Linked DNA regions of Homo sapiens: regions 1, 3 and 4 are each linked to region 2. The links are contacts of gene promoters, found by promoter capture Hi-C in blood cells and fetal thymus (Javierre and others, 2016). All regions are on one chromosome and are shown on one strand. Each heading gives the region's core, a stretch centred on a gene start or on the middle of the fragment in contact. The rest is flanking DNA. Distances are from core to core; before and after follow the strand shown. Region 1 has its middle 11 kb from the start of CCDC85C. Region 2 holds the start of PAPOLA (poly(A) polymerase alpha). Region 3 overlaps CYP46A1 (cytochrome P450 family 46 subfamily A member 1). Region 4 overlaps CCNK (cyclin K).

Region 1 (2,770 bases), core at 249-2,748, 3.1 Mb before region 2:
TCTGGGAAATGTGTCATTAGTTGCTGTCATCATTGTCATGGAGCATACAATGCTAGATGGGATAGCCCACTGCACACCCAGGCCAGATGGTCTAGCCTATTGCTGCTAGGCTCACAAATCTGTACAGCATGTACCTGTACTGAATATCGTAGGAACTGTAACACAATGGCAAGAATTTGTGTGTCTAAACATAGAAAAGGTACAGTAAGAACACAATATTATCTGACAGGCCCACCGTGGTGTATGTGACCCCGACTAAAATGTGATGGAGCAGCACGTGACTCTATATAAACATTATGGCCAGCTGAGCCATGGTATGGCCTGATTGGATTTCCTTCCTTGTACAACTTCTGGGTTTCCCTGGGGATTAATAATTGCCTCCTTGTTTTGACTTGCTTGGTTTTTTCTGGGCTTTTCACCAAACTCCGACAGAGCTCTAATATTCCTCTCCAAACAGCCAAGCACTCCTACCAAGGGAATCCGTGAGCTTGGGCAGTTCCTCCGGGAGCCTCCTTTTCAAATCTGCGCTGATTGCTTCTGTCTGCAAAGCCCTCACCCTGGACCTTCCTTTCTCTGTTGTCTGAATCTCATGTCTTTTTTTCTTTCTTTCTTTCTCTTTCTTTCCTTCTTTCTTTCTTTCTCTTTCTTTCTTTCCTTCCTTCTTTCTTTTTCTTTCTTTCTCTCTCTCTCTTCCTTTCTTTCTCTTTCTTCCTTTCTTTCTTCCTTCCTTTCCTCTCTCTCTCTTTCTTTCTTCTTTTCTTTTAACTGCCTTCCTTTCTTTTCTTTTCTTTCTGACACAGAGTCTCACTCTGCCACCCAAGCTGGAGTGCAGTGGCACAATCACAGCTCATTGCAGTTTCAACCTCCCGGGCTCTAGTAACCCTCTCACCTCAGCCTCCTGAGTAGCTGGGAGCACAGGCATGCACCACCAAGCCCATATTTTTGAATTTTTTGTAGAGATAGGGTTTCCTCATGTTGCCCAGGCTGGTCTTGAACTCCTGGGCTCAAGCAATCTGGGAGGCTGGGCTCCTAAAGTGCTGGGATTACAGGCGTGAGCCACTGTGCCTGGGCTTCATGTCTTATTTCTTGGTTTAATTCCTAATTTTAGAGAAAGGATGTCTGGGAAATAATTTTTCTATTTTTTTTTAATTGGAAAATGTCTCACTCTGCCCTCCCCCTGGACTGCATTGGTACTAAAATAGTTTTCCTTCAGGATGCTGAGACATCGCTTCATGACCTTCTAGTTTTTGGACTTGCTGTTGAGAATGTCAACATCATTCTGATTCCTTTTCTCCGCACTCTACGCACCATGGTTTGAGGATTTTCTCAACCCTGGTGTTGTGAAGTTTTACAATAATGTGCCCAGTATGGTCTATTTTCCACTTCTCTTCTGGCCCTTTTTATGGAGAGACTTGTGTCCATGAGTCCCAGATAATTTTTTGATTTTATATCTTTATTACTTTCTTTCCTTTCATTTTATCCCATTAGATACGGGACAAAAAAATCAGGGCATTAAGTGAACGCTATCCTGGCCTCCGGAAACCCTCGTCCCCTCCAGCGTCACTAGGTGTATGCATTCGAAGTAGCACATTTGAGGATTATTTGGGGAATCTGGATAACGTTAGAGAAAGATCTCTAAGGTCAGATGCTTGGGGAGGGGTGTACCCCACAGCAATGGGAGTGTCTCCTAGCTCAGCCTGATGCCAACAAACAAGTGCCTCATGTAGCTCAGAGCAGATCTGGCTGCTAAATCACTGTCTCCCAAGATTCTGATGGACTTGGTCTGGGGTGGGACCTGAGCATCTGCATTTCACATGCTTTCCGGTGATTCTAAGGGTGGCTGGGGCTGAGAGCCCAAGGGCTGACCTGCTGCCCTTGCTCCGAGAGCCTGACCAGCTAGCTGCCTCTTGGGCTCTGATTTGCTCACAGGGGCTCTGTGAGTTCAGGGTGCTGAGATGGAGCTTCCTCATTGCAGAGTTCTGTGGCCTGGTGTTGGGGCTGAGCTGGGCGAGCTACTCTTGAGAGAAGGCTTGGCTCTTCAGTTCAGTTTTCAGACGCTCAGGAAGACTCTGGGCTCCGGGGCACCCACAGGACTCAGCCCTTTCTCGAGGAGAGCATCCCCTCCCGCCTCACCGTGTGGCCTGGGGTTCACGCCTCCTTTTCTTGTCACTTGACTATCTCCTCATCCTACAAGGAGGATGAAATGGTCCTATTTTCCGGTCCTGATCCAGAGGCTCAGAGAGGGAGTGCAGCTTTGCCTAAGGCCACCTTGCTGGTAAGGGTCAGGCCAGAGACACAGATTTTACATCCAGGGTTTTTCAACTTAACTCAGCTTCCTTCTTTATCATTCATTCATTCAACAAACATTTACTGAGTTCCCAGGCTCTATGCTAGGAATTTTATTTTTATTTTATTTATTTATTTTTGAGATGGAATCTCACTCTGTCGCCCAGGCTGTAGTGCAACGGCATGATCTCGGCTCACTGCAACCTCCCACTCCTGGGTTCAAGTGATTCTCCTGCCTCAGCATCCTGAGTAGCTGGGATTACAGGTGTGCACCACTGCGCCCGGCTAATTTTTTTGTATTTTTAGTAGAGATGGGATTTTACCATGTTGGCCAGGCTGGTCTCGAACTCCTCACCTCAAGTGATCTGCCCACCTCGGCCTCCCAAAGTGCTGGGATTACAGGCATGAGCCACTGTGCCCGGCCTGGAACTTTAAATTTAAAAACACATTCAGGCCTGGCAACGTGGCTCACACCTATAATTCC
Region 2 (3,000 bases), core at 486-2,985:
CTATTGAACTGAGAAACACCACAACAATCTTGCTTAGACTCAGTTCTCCTAGGGTCTCTTATTCTATGAAAGGGAAAAATCAATAAACAGAAACCATGCAGATTCCAAGATTTTAGACCTGTATAGTTAGTTAAGTCTAACAAACGTTTTCATCACAGAAGTAATGTGATAGACTTCTTAATAACCTAAGGGGGTGGGTGGGAGCCATGGAAAATCCTTTTAAAATACATAAATTGCGATAGAAGTCATTAAGGTCTGTGCCAAAGTTAGAGTCTCACCTGTAAAGAAACACATTCACACACATATATAATTGTAAAACTACAATCGGTGATTATGTGCTAAAGAAATTATCCTTACTTACAAAAAAAAAATAGACCTGAGTTACTACATTCGATGTCTAGAAACCACAAAAATCTTTATCCTGAATTTAACCAAAACTTTGAGTGTCAATTACATGTTGCGTTTTGAGGCTACTAAGATGAAGAAAACTCGGTCCCTGGTCTCAAAGAGGCACTCTTACGCTTCAATATTCAAAAATGGAAGAAATGCAGTCTCACTATTTAGGCCTCTACAATGCTGTATATTTGCAGGAAAAAAAAAATCCGTAATCTACTGGCAATGAGCTGCCAAATTATATCTCATTATCAGAAAGGGGGAGGGGAGAAAAAAACTTTTTAAAAACCCACCAAGAAAAGAAAAAGGCGCAGTGGCATTAGAAAGCATAAAGAGACTAGCTTCAAGCCTTACAACCAGGAAAAAAAAAGTATCACCAGAGATAGAGAAAGAAGGAAACAGAATGAAACCTGGTTACCCCATCAAAACAAAACAGGGAAAGCAATACATAAGTCGTTTTGGAGGAGGGCACCCTGTGAAGTGCCCCCTTCTCCGACCGCCTGTGAATGCTAGGGAGGCGGAGGTGGAGGCAGGCGGACTCAACGCTCAAAGCTGGGCTTTTAACTCGTGCTCCTACATTCAGACAAGGTCAGTGGAAAGGGGCTAACTCCGGCGCACAAGACAGGCATCTGGAAATGGGAGGAAGAGAGTGAGCAAACTGAGACAGACCAGGAACAGAAAAGCAACATCGAATGGGCCCGAGGGGCGCCGAGAGCGAGCCCGAACCCCAAGTGCTGATCCCGCGTGCAGCAGGGTCGTGGTTCCCCACCACCAGGCAATGTTTTGTTTTCGGGTTGTTTTGATTTTCTTTGTGGACGGGGCGGAGAAGCTGGAGTGGCCGGGCGAGTTAGAGGTTCCGCCAGCAATTCCGGAAGGGGAAGGCCCCCGGCCCGACGGCAGCTGACCCAGCCAGGAAGGGTCGGGGGACGCGGGAACCCAGCACACGGGGGGAAGTGCGGCGGCGAGCGAGCGAGGAAACAGGAAGGTCCCCAGTCCTGCCTGCCTCCTACCAGCGGGGAGGGTCGGGCTCGCGTGCCACCCTCTCCGCCTACCTCTTCCCCTTCCCGGACGCCCCCCAAGGCCCAGCCGGCGAGCGAAAGAAAACAGAATACAAATTACTTACAACGGCATCGTCTCCGGCGCCGGCACCGCCCAGTCACTTCCCCCCCGCAACCGCCGCCGCTGCCGCCCTGGGCATGATCCACTGAGGCGGGAGGGAGGGGGGGGCCTGCCTCAGCCCTGGGTCCAACCCCTCTCCCGCACCGCTCCCGCCGCTTTAAGCGCTTCTCCTCCTTCCCCTTCGTCCTAACATGGCGCCCGAGCGCTACCACAGCAACGTTCTAGAACTGCTGACGCCACCACGCACGCCGTGCGTGCGCCTGCGCACCAGCGCCGTCCGCCGCGAAGCCTCACGGGAAGCGGAGTTCCTAAGGCCGCCTGCGGCCCGGCAATTACCCCCTGGGTCCTCTCACACTTAGCAGTGGGTGTCAGATGGTGGAAGGGAACGCTCAGGGAGGCCCCGGGCGGTGAGTTGTCCCTCGGGCGGGGACGCCCTCGTGGGCAGTGCGGCGTGGACGGCGCAAGGAAGAACCCGGAGAGATCCCAAGCCACGAGGCACCGCTTCCGGCGCATTGTGAGGTCCCACCTTTCCCGCCGCCTGAGGTCGCGGCGGCTGCTCTTTCCCGGAGCAGCGTCCCTGGAGGCGCTGCCAGGGGGTGAGGCACCCACGCGTGCACCGTATGTACCCCCCAGCGCGGCGCTTAGAACGACTCGCATGAGTCGCTGCCTTGGGTTGGAACCGGTTACTCCGCCGCTTCGTACTGGACTGCAAAGTAACAAGTACTTCGCCGGGCAGCGGTGCCGACCCCGTGTGCTACGGCGAGAGGTGCTTAGCCTAGAGCCGACGAAAACATGTCCCCAGGACTCCCTTTCCCTCCCAGACTGCGTCCCACCAGATGGAGCTTTCCGTCTGTTTTAACCACCAGTGTATTCCTGATGCCTGACCCAGGCGCTGAAATATTTGTTGAACGAATAAATGTGTAGGTTAGGACTGACGACAGTCCGCGAATTCTGGAACACGGGCTGATTTTACTTTTGAACAAATGATGCACTGGAACTTCCTGACAGAGCTGACCTTTTATAGGAACATCAATGGCAGTCACCGCTGGCATTTTAGCAAAGGTTGTCTTGGTCATAATTTCCCCTTGACTGTGTTTCCAGCCCTTAATCTATATCGGGTGGGACCTGGAAGTCTACCTTCTCGCCACCCCTCGGCAAAAGTTTGAGAAAGTGTTTGAGGCAGAGCCTCCTCTCTCATATGCCCTCCATCTGCGAATTAGAACGAATTATAAGTTCTACGGTGTCACATAGGGGGTTAGCGGAGAGGAAGAGGGAAAGAATCAAATACAGGACGCTGCCTTAACCAAAGTTCTAAACTCTAAATGTAATAATGTGCATTTGTGAGTCCTCAGGAAGTTTCACAAAGGCTTTCCCTTTTTTCACAGAATGTCTAGTAGGACTGGTGACTCCGAATGGGAAAAACACAGGACCTAGACCTGCCCTGTCCATTAGTGTAGCCCCTTGGCCACTTAGGGCCACTGAGCACTT
Region 3 (3,006 bases), core at 365-2,864, 3.2 Mb before region 2:
GTGGGCCTGGGGCAGGAGGTGGGCAGCTGCTCAGTGGAGCCCAGGAAGGAAACTCTCACCGGCTGCTCCCTTTGCTCAGGGAAGTAGGAGGCAAGAATAAAAGCTGAGAGTGCGGATGGAGGGGGAGGTGATGGGGACTGAAGCAGGAAGGGAGAGTAGGCGAATAAACGCCCTGGGGAAGGAAGTACGGGGTGGCCGCCTGCCCGCAGTGGAGGCCCACGCCAGGTGAGTGGCCTTGAACTTGCAGGAAGATGGGCTGTGATCATCACACATGCCTGGATGTATTTCCAGAGTAATCTAGTGTCCTCATTGTCGCTTCCCAAAGCTCACATTCTGGGGGAATGTTCTCAGTTTTGAGTCACTTAAGTGAGGACAGAGTCTGAGCCCAGAGCTTCCACCCTAACCCCTGGGGTTCCCTGCCACATGGGAAGGAAGGTGAGTGCCATCTCAGGAAGACAGAGGGCACAGAGAGGGGTGGGGTCCTCATGGCCCACCAAGAAAGGGGAAAAAAAACCCATTCCTTCTGGCACCTGCAGGGGGCGCTGGGGAGGCGACAACAGAACAGGAAGACCCAGGTGTTAAAAACAAGCAGGTAAGGCTAACACCATGGCCAGACATGGGGACTTGTTGCTCAGCGCCCCGGCAGGCAGAAGCCCACTTGGCATGTCCCTGGTGATAGACTGGACACAGCAGAGCAGCCCTGGGAGAGAGGAGAGGCAATCCCCCACCGCCCACCACCCCACACCTCTCCAGCACATCCAGTTTCCTGCAACATCATGATTGGCTGAGTGGGGACCCAAGCTCTCCTGTGGGCAGAGAAAACCTTGGCCAGTGAACGAGGAGAGGCCATCTGGAGAGCCCACAGTGAAGTCACCCAGAGGGATGAAGGGAATGCTCCAGTAGTGGAGGAGCGGGCTACCCACTAGGGGTAGGCGTGAGGGTGAGGGACCATGATTGTGGCTCATGCCAGAGGGGCAGGGTGGCGAGTGCTCAGCTGGGCACCCAAAGCTCATCAGATGCACCACCCGCCAGAGCCAGCTGTGGGGCTCCCCCATGGCTGGCCACCCTGCTCCTTGCTGAACAGCCCCACCCCAGCAACTGGGCAAATCGGAGTGGAACCAGAACTGTCCAGGAGGAGTCAATTTATCCCCAAATAAATAAAAATTGGGAGAGAAAGACCTTTCATTGTCAAGTTTACATCCACTCCCACATTACCAGGAGAGTAGGGGCTGATGAGGGAAGTTAGAACAGTGACAGAGAAATAAAGAAGCTACAGGTGTTTGTGTGGGATCTGAGTGTGGGGGTCTGAGTTTTCAGCTGTTACACGGATCGGTGCAGTAGGATGTGGTAAGAAAAGCACAGAGGAGGGGCACTGAGGGAGGGCCTCCTGTAGAATGAGGAAGATGAAGAGTTGCCTCTTGCAGCGAGAGGGTTCCTTGCCTGCCAGCTGGCAAAGCCCTGGGGTACCCGGGGGCAAATGCTACTACTGGAGACTCAACACACAGATCTCTCGTCAACCACAGTATCGCCAATCATAGTTTAAAGATCCAGGCTTTTAATGTCAAGGCATCGGGTTTCTGCTAGAAGAGTTTCCAGAACTTTCATTTAGTGCAGTTTTATATTTGACCACTAACCAATTTTTAATCCAAAATCTTTTTATATATGCATTGTTCAGTTCACCTCCTTAGAATAAATAGCCCAATCATGATTATATTCATCTTCCTCCCACTGCTCCCTCCGCACCCCACACACTCAGGTCACATGTAGACTCTGTGGTATAAGATTTGGGAAGAATTTAGCCATAAGAAGGAAAGCAATAAGGATACATGCTACTACATGAATGAACTTTTGAAACATTATACTAAGTGAAAGAAGCCAGACACAAAAGGCCACATATTGTATGATTCCATTTATATGAAATGTCCAGAACAGGCAAATCCACAGAGACAGAAAGCAGATTCATGGTTGCCAGGGCTGTGAGGGGTGGGAGAAAATGAGGAGTGATGGCTAATGGGTACGGGGTTTCTTTCTGGGGTGACAAAACAGTTCTGAAATCGGTGGCGATGGCTGCACAGTGCTGTGAATGTACCAAAAACCACTGAATCATACACTAAAGAATACATTTTGTGGAATGCAAGTTACATTTCAATTTTTTTTAAGATGATTTAAATTCTGCTTTCTCAAGACACAGAGACCAGAACAGGTCATTTGAGTTTATGAGAAGACCAAGTAACGATGAAACTTATCAGAACAAGCACCAAACTCATTCAATTCTAAGTGCTGATGGCTTCTCTGAAAACTTGAGAGGGTGATAGTGTCCACCACGGAACTCACGGGAGATTTCCACCATTCAACCTTGAATTGCTATTCATAGAGTGTCTACTATGCATGTACAATGTGCTGCTACATGTCGGAGATGCAGCAGTGACTGAGACAGACAGGGGGCCCATGGAAAAGAGACACTTAGGAAAAACTTGCACAAATAATTGCCCAATTAACATTATGCTGTAAAGGAAAATTACAGTGATTTCAGGGTTTATAAAATGAACATAATATTTTTGGGGGAGCAGGAGGAACCTCCCTGAGGAGTTAGCATTGAAGCCAAACCTGGAAGGCTGGGGGAAGAAGCATCCAGGTAAAGTAGAAGGCAGAGGAGCTAAGCAAGGAGAGAGAGAGAGAGCACCAGAAGGGCAGAGAGCCAGCAGGGAGAACAGGTGCCTCCCTATGTCACCAGCCACAGAGATCTTTCCTGAACCCATCAAGCAGAGATTCAGGCTTCTAACGCCAGTACATCTGGCTTGTGCTGGAGATGGGTGCCTTCCAGAATATTCATGTCCTGAGATTTTAAAAAGTGTGTCTAATACAATTGTTTATTCATTCATTCAACAAATATTTATTGAGATCTGCAACACGCCAGGCACTGGGGATACACAAGCGAACACAGAGTGTCCCTGTCCTCCCGGGGCTCACATTCTAGAGGGGGAGACAGTCAACAGGTGAACAGAC
Region 4 (3,149 bases), core at 650-3,149, 3.0 Mb before region 2:
CCTGCCTGTGGCTGACATTGTCAATCTGGGCCCCAGTCTCCCTTTTCTAAGTTCCCAGGACCTGCTGCGTCCAACATTCAGAGGCGATGTGCACAGCTGGCCAAGCTGCTTCAGCAGATGCTTACCTGGAGGTGGGTGGGCTGGAGGCAACGGTGGATGAGTGGTCTCAATTTTGGGGATTTTAGGTGGTGGTGGTTCTACAAAGAAAAAGCAGATTAGAAAACCACTCATACTTCTTCACATGAATAAGCATGTCATAAAGAAAAATGTACTGGCAGAGATTTCTTTGGGAGAAAAACAACAGAGATGACCAAGGCTTTAAGGGAACTTGAAGAAGGTTTCAGCTAAACCATTATGCATGAATCCTGTTAACAAATTAAATGCCACCTCCCTCCAAAAGACCTGCGAGCTTCCCACAGGCAGCCCATTTTCCATGTCTACCTAAGTTTCCTTGCTGACCACTTCACTCAAGTCCTTCCGACCATGTGAGACCAGCAGAGCAACGTCTTCATGAGCATGTATGACCTATCTGGAGTCCTCCCTGGTACAGAGGACACAAAGAAGGGTCCAGAGTAGCAACATCATGTCACTGAGTCCCCTGAGGGTTCCACAAGAGAATCTCTATCTTTTCATTCTTAGACATAGTTTATTCTCTCTTTCCCAAATACTGACTTCCAGTTGGCAGCATGTCAGAAGCAGCACATTAACTGGAGTCAGCAGAGCTCTGGAGGTTGACACACTGATGGCAGGAAGAATGTGCCGCTCACAAAAGCCCAGCAGTCAGGACCCCTTGAGGTGGAGGAAACAGCCCACCCTTCCGGGGTCAGGCAGCGGCACGCAGCCAGAATCCACAATGACAGCACTAGGTCTCCAAGGCAGCCCAAGGGAAGTCCAATCTCATCCGTTTAAGAAGGCAGCGTGCACATCACAACTGAAAAAGAACCCTATTTTTCTGTTTGCATGCTGAGGCTTTTTCTTCCTGAAATGTACTTTCTTCTGGCTTGTACACCACTCAGATCTGAGTCTCCTCTGCCATCACTGGCCTCTTTCTCTGGATTTCCTCCATCTCAAATACAGGCTCAATTTAAGTTCCAGGGACTTCCTCTCTCTTCACCCTCTTCCTCAGAGTCCAAAGCCCCTCTCTAAGTGGACAACTACAAACCTACATTTCTAGCGTCCATCTTGCCACCAAAACCATGGCCCATCCCTAGACCCACCAATCAGCACCTCACACTCTACCTTTTGCCTCTGTATCCTATAACTGCTATTACTCTCACCTCAGGGACCCACCTCCTGCCTTTTTCCACAGCTGGTAATAGTTAGCTAAAGCCGTCTACATCAGGGCTGTCCAACAGCAATATAACTGAGAGCCACATATCTACAATTTTAAACTTTCCAGGAGCCATTTTATTTTTTGAGACAGGGTCTCGCTCTGTCACCCAGGCTGGAGTGTAGTAATGTAATCATGGCTCACTGCAGCTTCAACCAACCAGGCTCAAGTGATCTTGCTGCCTGAGTCTCCCAAGTAGCTGGGACCATAGGTGTGGCGCCACCACGCCGAGCTGATTTTTAAGTTTTGTGTAGTGATGGGGTCACCCTATGTGGCCCAGTCTGGCCTGGAACTCCTGGGCTCAAAGCATGCCTTGGCCTCCCAAAGTGCTGGGATTACAAGTGTGCCAGGAACCACTTTAACAAGAAAAAGGAGCACTCCAGCCTGCATTAACAGAGCAAGACTCTGGAAATAAAAGGAAAAAGGATAAAATTTATTTAACCCGATAGATCGAAAATTTTATTTCAACATGTAACCAATATAAAGCTTTACTAATGAGATGTCTTACGTTCTCCTTTCTTGGAAATCTCTGTGTATTTTGCATTGTCAGTGCTTCAGAATTTGACCCAGTCACATTTCGAGTGCTTGCAGCCCTCTGCAGCCAGTAGCCTTCGGCATGGCACAGTGCAGCTGAGTTCCTCTATAAAGCTTCCTCCGGATCTGCCCTTCCTGCCCCGCAGCCAGCATGCTGAGGCCACCATGTTTCCCATGAGTGCCAGCAAGATTCTCCCCATTCCTAACCACTTGCCCTATTTACTGCTGCCAGGGGACTCCTTCTCAAATGAATTTAGACTCTGCCATTCCCCTGCTAAATCTCCAATGGCTTCCCTTGCCTCTGCCAAACTCACAGTCCTCCAGGTAAACTCTGTGATCTGGTCCTAACCCACATTTTAGATCCTATCAGAAGCTATTGCCTTTCAATTCATCACATTCCAGAAAGACTCCTCTCCATTTCCCCTGATTCTCAATTCCTTTGCTCACTTGCGTACTTCCAACTTATTGCTCCATCCTCCCCCTCTGCTCTCGCTGCTCAAATGCAACTCTTCCTTCAAGGTCATATATAGTTTGTTTCCTGCCTCTGACAGACCTGCACGTCAACTCAATTGCATTTCATGTGGCATGGAGTGTAGCCCGTTCTTGTGTCTAACATTTAATGTCGGTCAATTTGAAGCTAATTAAAAAATTCACCTGTAGGCTGGGCACGGTGGCTCATGCCTGTAATCGCAGCACTTTGGGAGGCTGGGGCGAGCAGATCACCTGAGGTCGGGAGTTTGACACCTGCCTGACCAACATGGAGAAACCCTGTCTCTACTAAAAATACAAAATTAGCCAGGCCTGGTGGTGCATGCCTGTAATCCCAGCTACTCGGGAGGCTGAGGCAGGAGAATTGCTTGAACCCAGGAGGCGGAGGTTGTGGTGAGTTAAGATTGCACCGCTGCACTCCAGCCTGGGCAACAAGAGTGAAACTCTGTCTCAAAAAAAAAAAAAAAATTCACCTGTACTGAACTCATCATTCCCTCAAATATACTGGAAAAAAAAAAAAAGTAGCTCTATCATAACTGGAAGATTTCACAGCAGTTTAATGAATGGAACTAAGAACCGAGAACATGGTTCTAAGAACCAGGAACTACTGGAACTAAGAACCAAGTAACAAAGAAAGACAAATGAGTCAATAGGGTCTGTGCCTTCAAAGAGTTCAGTATGATAGGTGGACTGACCCTGTGACAAAACATTTCTAACTTTCTGTTTTGTAATTGTTCCAATTTTGCTCACTCCTTCTGTTTATTTCCAATATTGACATGAACTAACTTTGGGTTCT

What was found. Contacts are between HindIII fragments. The CHiCAGO score rates a contact against its expected background, and 5 or more counts as called.
Region 1: a fragment that was not itself captured here is called in contact with the fragment with the promoter of PAPOLA in region 2 in 1 of 17 cell types (non-activated CD4 T cells); the score reaches 5.6 in non-activated CD4 T cells.
Region 3: a fragment that was not itself captured here is called in contact with the fragment with the promoter of PAPOLA in region 2 in 3 of 17 cell types (non-activated CD4 T cells, fetal thymus and naive CD8 T cells); the score reaches 7.4 in non-activated CD4 T cells.
Region 4: a contact is called between a fragment that was not itself captured here and the fragment with the promoter of PAPOLA in region 2, in 5 of 17 cell types (total CD4 T cells, naive CD8 T cells, non-activated CD4 T cells and 2 more). The highest score is 13.0, in total CD4 T cells.

What each region holds. Positions count from the first base shown.
Region 1 is chr14:99,613,567-99,616,336 of GRCh38, reverse strand. It overlaps a transcript of HHIPL1 not described here. Among named protein-coding and RNA genes, the nearest start is that of CCDC85C, 11 kb to the right of the region's middle. The HindIII fragment of the contact is 4,207 bases long and covers 1-2,770 here.
Region 2 is chr14:96,501,117-96,504,116 of GRCh38, reverse strand. PAPOLA (poly(A) polymerase alpha) reads right to left here and starts at 1,735. Exons shown (of 22, transcript NM_032632.5): 1 at 1,517-1,735. The coding sequence starts at 1,524. It overlaps PAPOLA-DT (PAPOLA divergent transcript), which reads left to right and starts at 1,791. Exons shown (of 1, transcript NR_122121.1): 1 at 1,791-2,469. RefSeq lists enhancers at 1-87, 1,243-1,838, 1,662-1,921, 1,839-2,433, 2,434-3,000 and silencers at 1,422-1,541, 1,980-2,323. The HindIII fragment of the contact is 10,690 bases long and covers 1-3,000 here.
Region 3 is chr14:99,685,491-99,688,496 of GRCh38, reverse strand. All of the region lies in intron 1 of CYP46A1 (cytochrome P450 family 46 subfamily A member 1), which reads right to left. Among named protein-coding and RNA genes, the nearest start is that of CYP46A1, 2.7 kb to the right of the region's middle. The HindIII fragment of the contact is 3,529 bases long and covers 1-3,006 here.
Region 4 is chr14:99,504,124-99,507,272 of GRCh38, reverse strand. It overlaps CCNK (cyclin K), which reads right to left. Exons shown (of 11, transcript NM_001099402.2): 10 at 126-197. CCDC85C (coiled-coil domain containing 85C) reads left to right here. Exons shown (of 6, transcript NM_001144995.2): 6 at 1-3,149. Among named protein-coding and RNA genes, the nearest start is that of CCNK, 24 kb to the right of the region's middle. The HindIII fragment of the contact is 162 bases long and covers 1,819-1,980 here.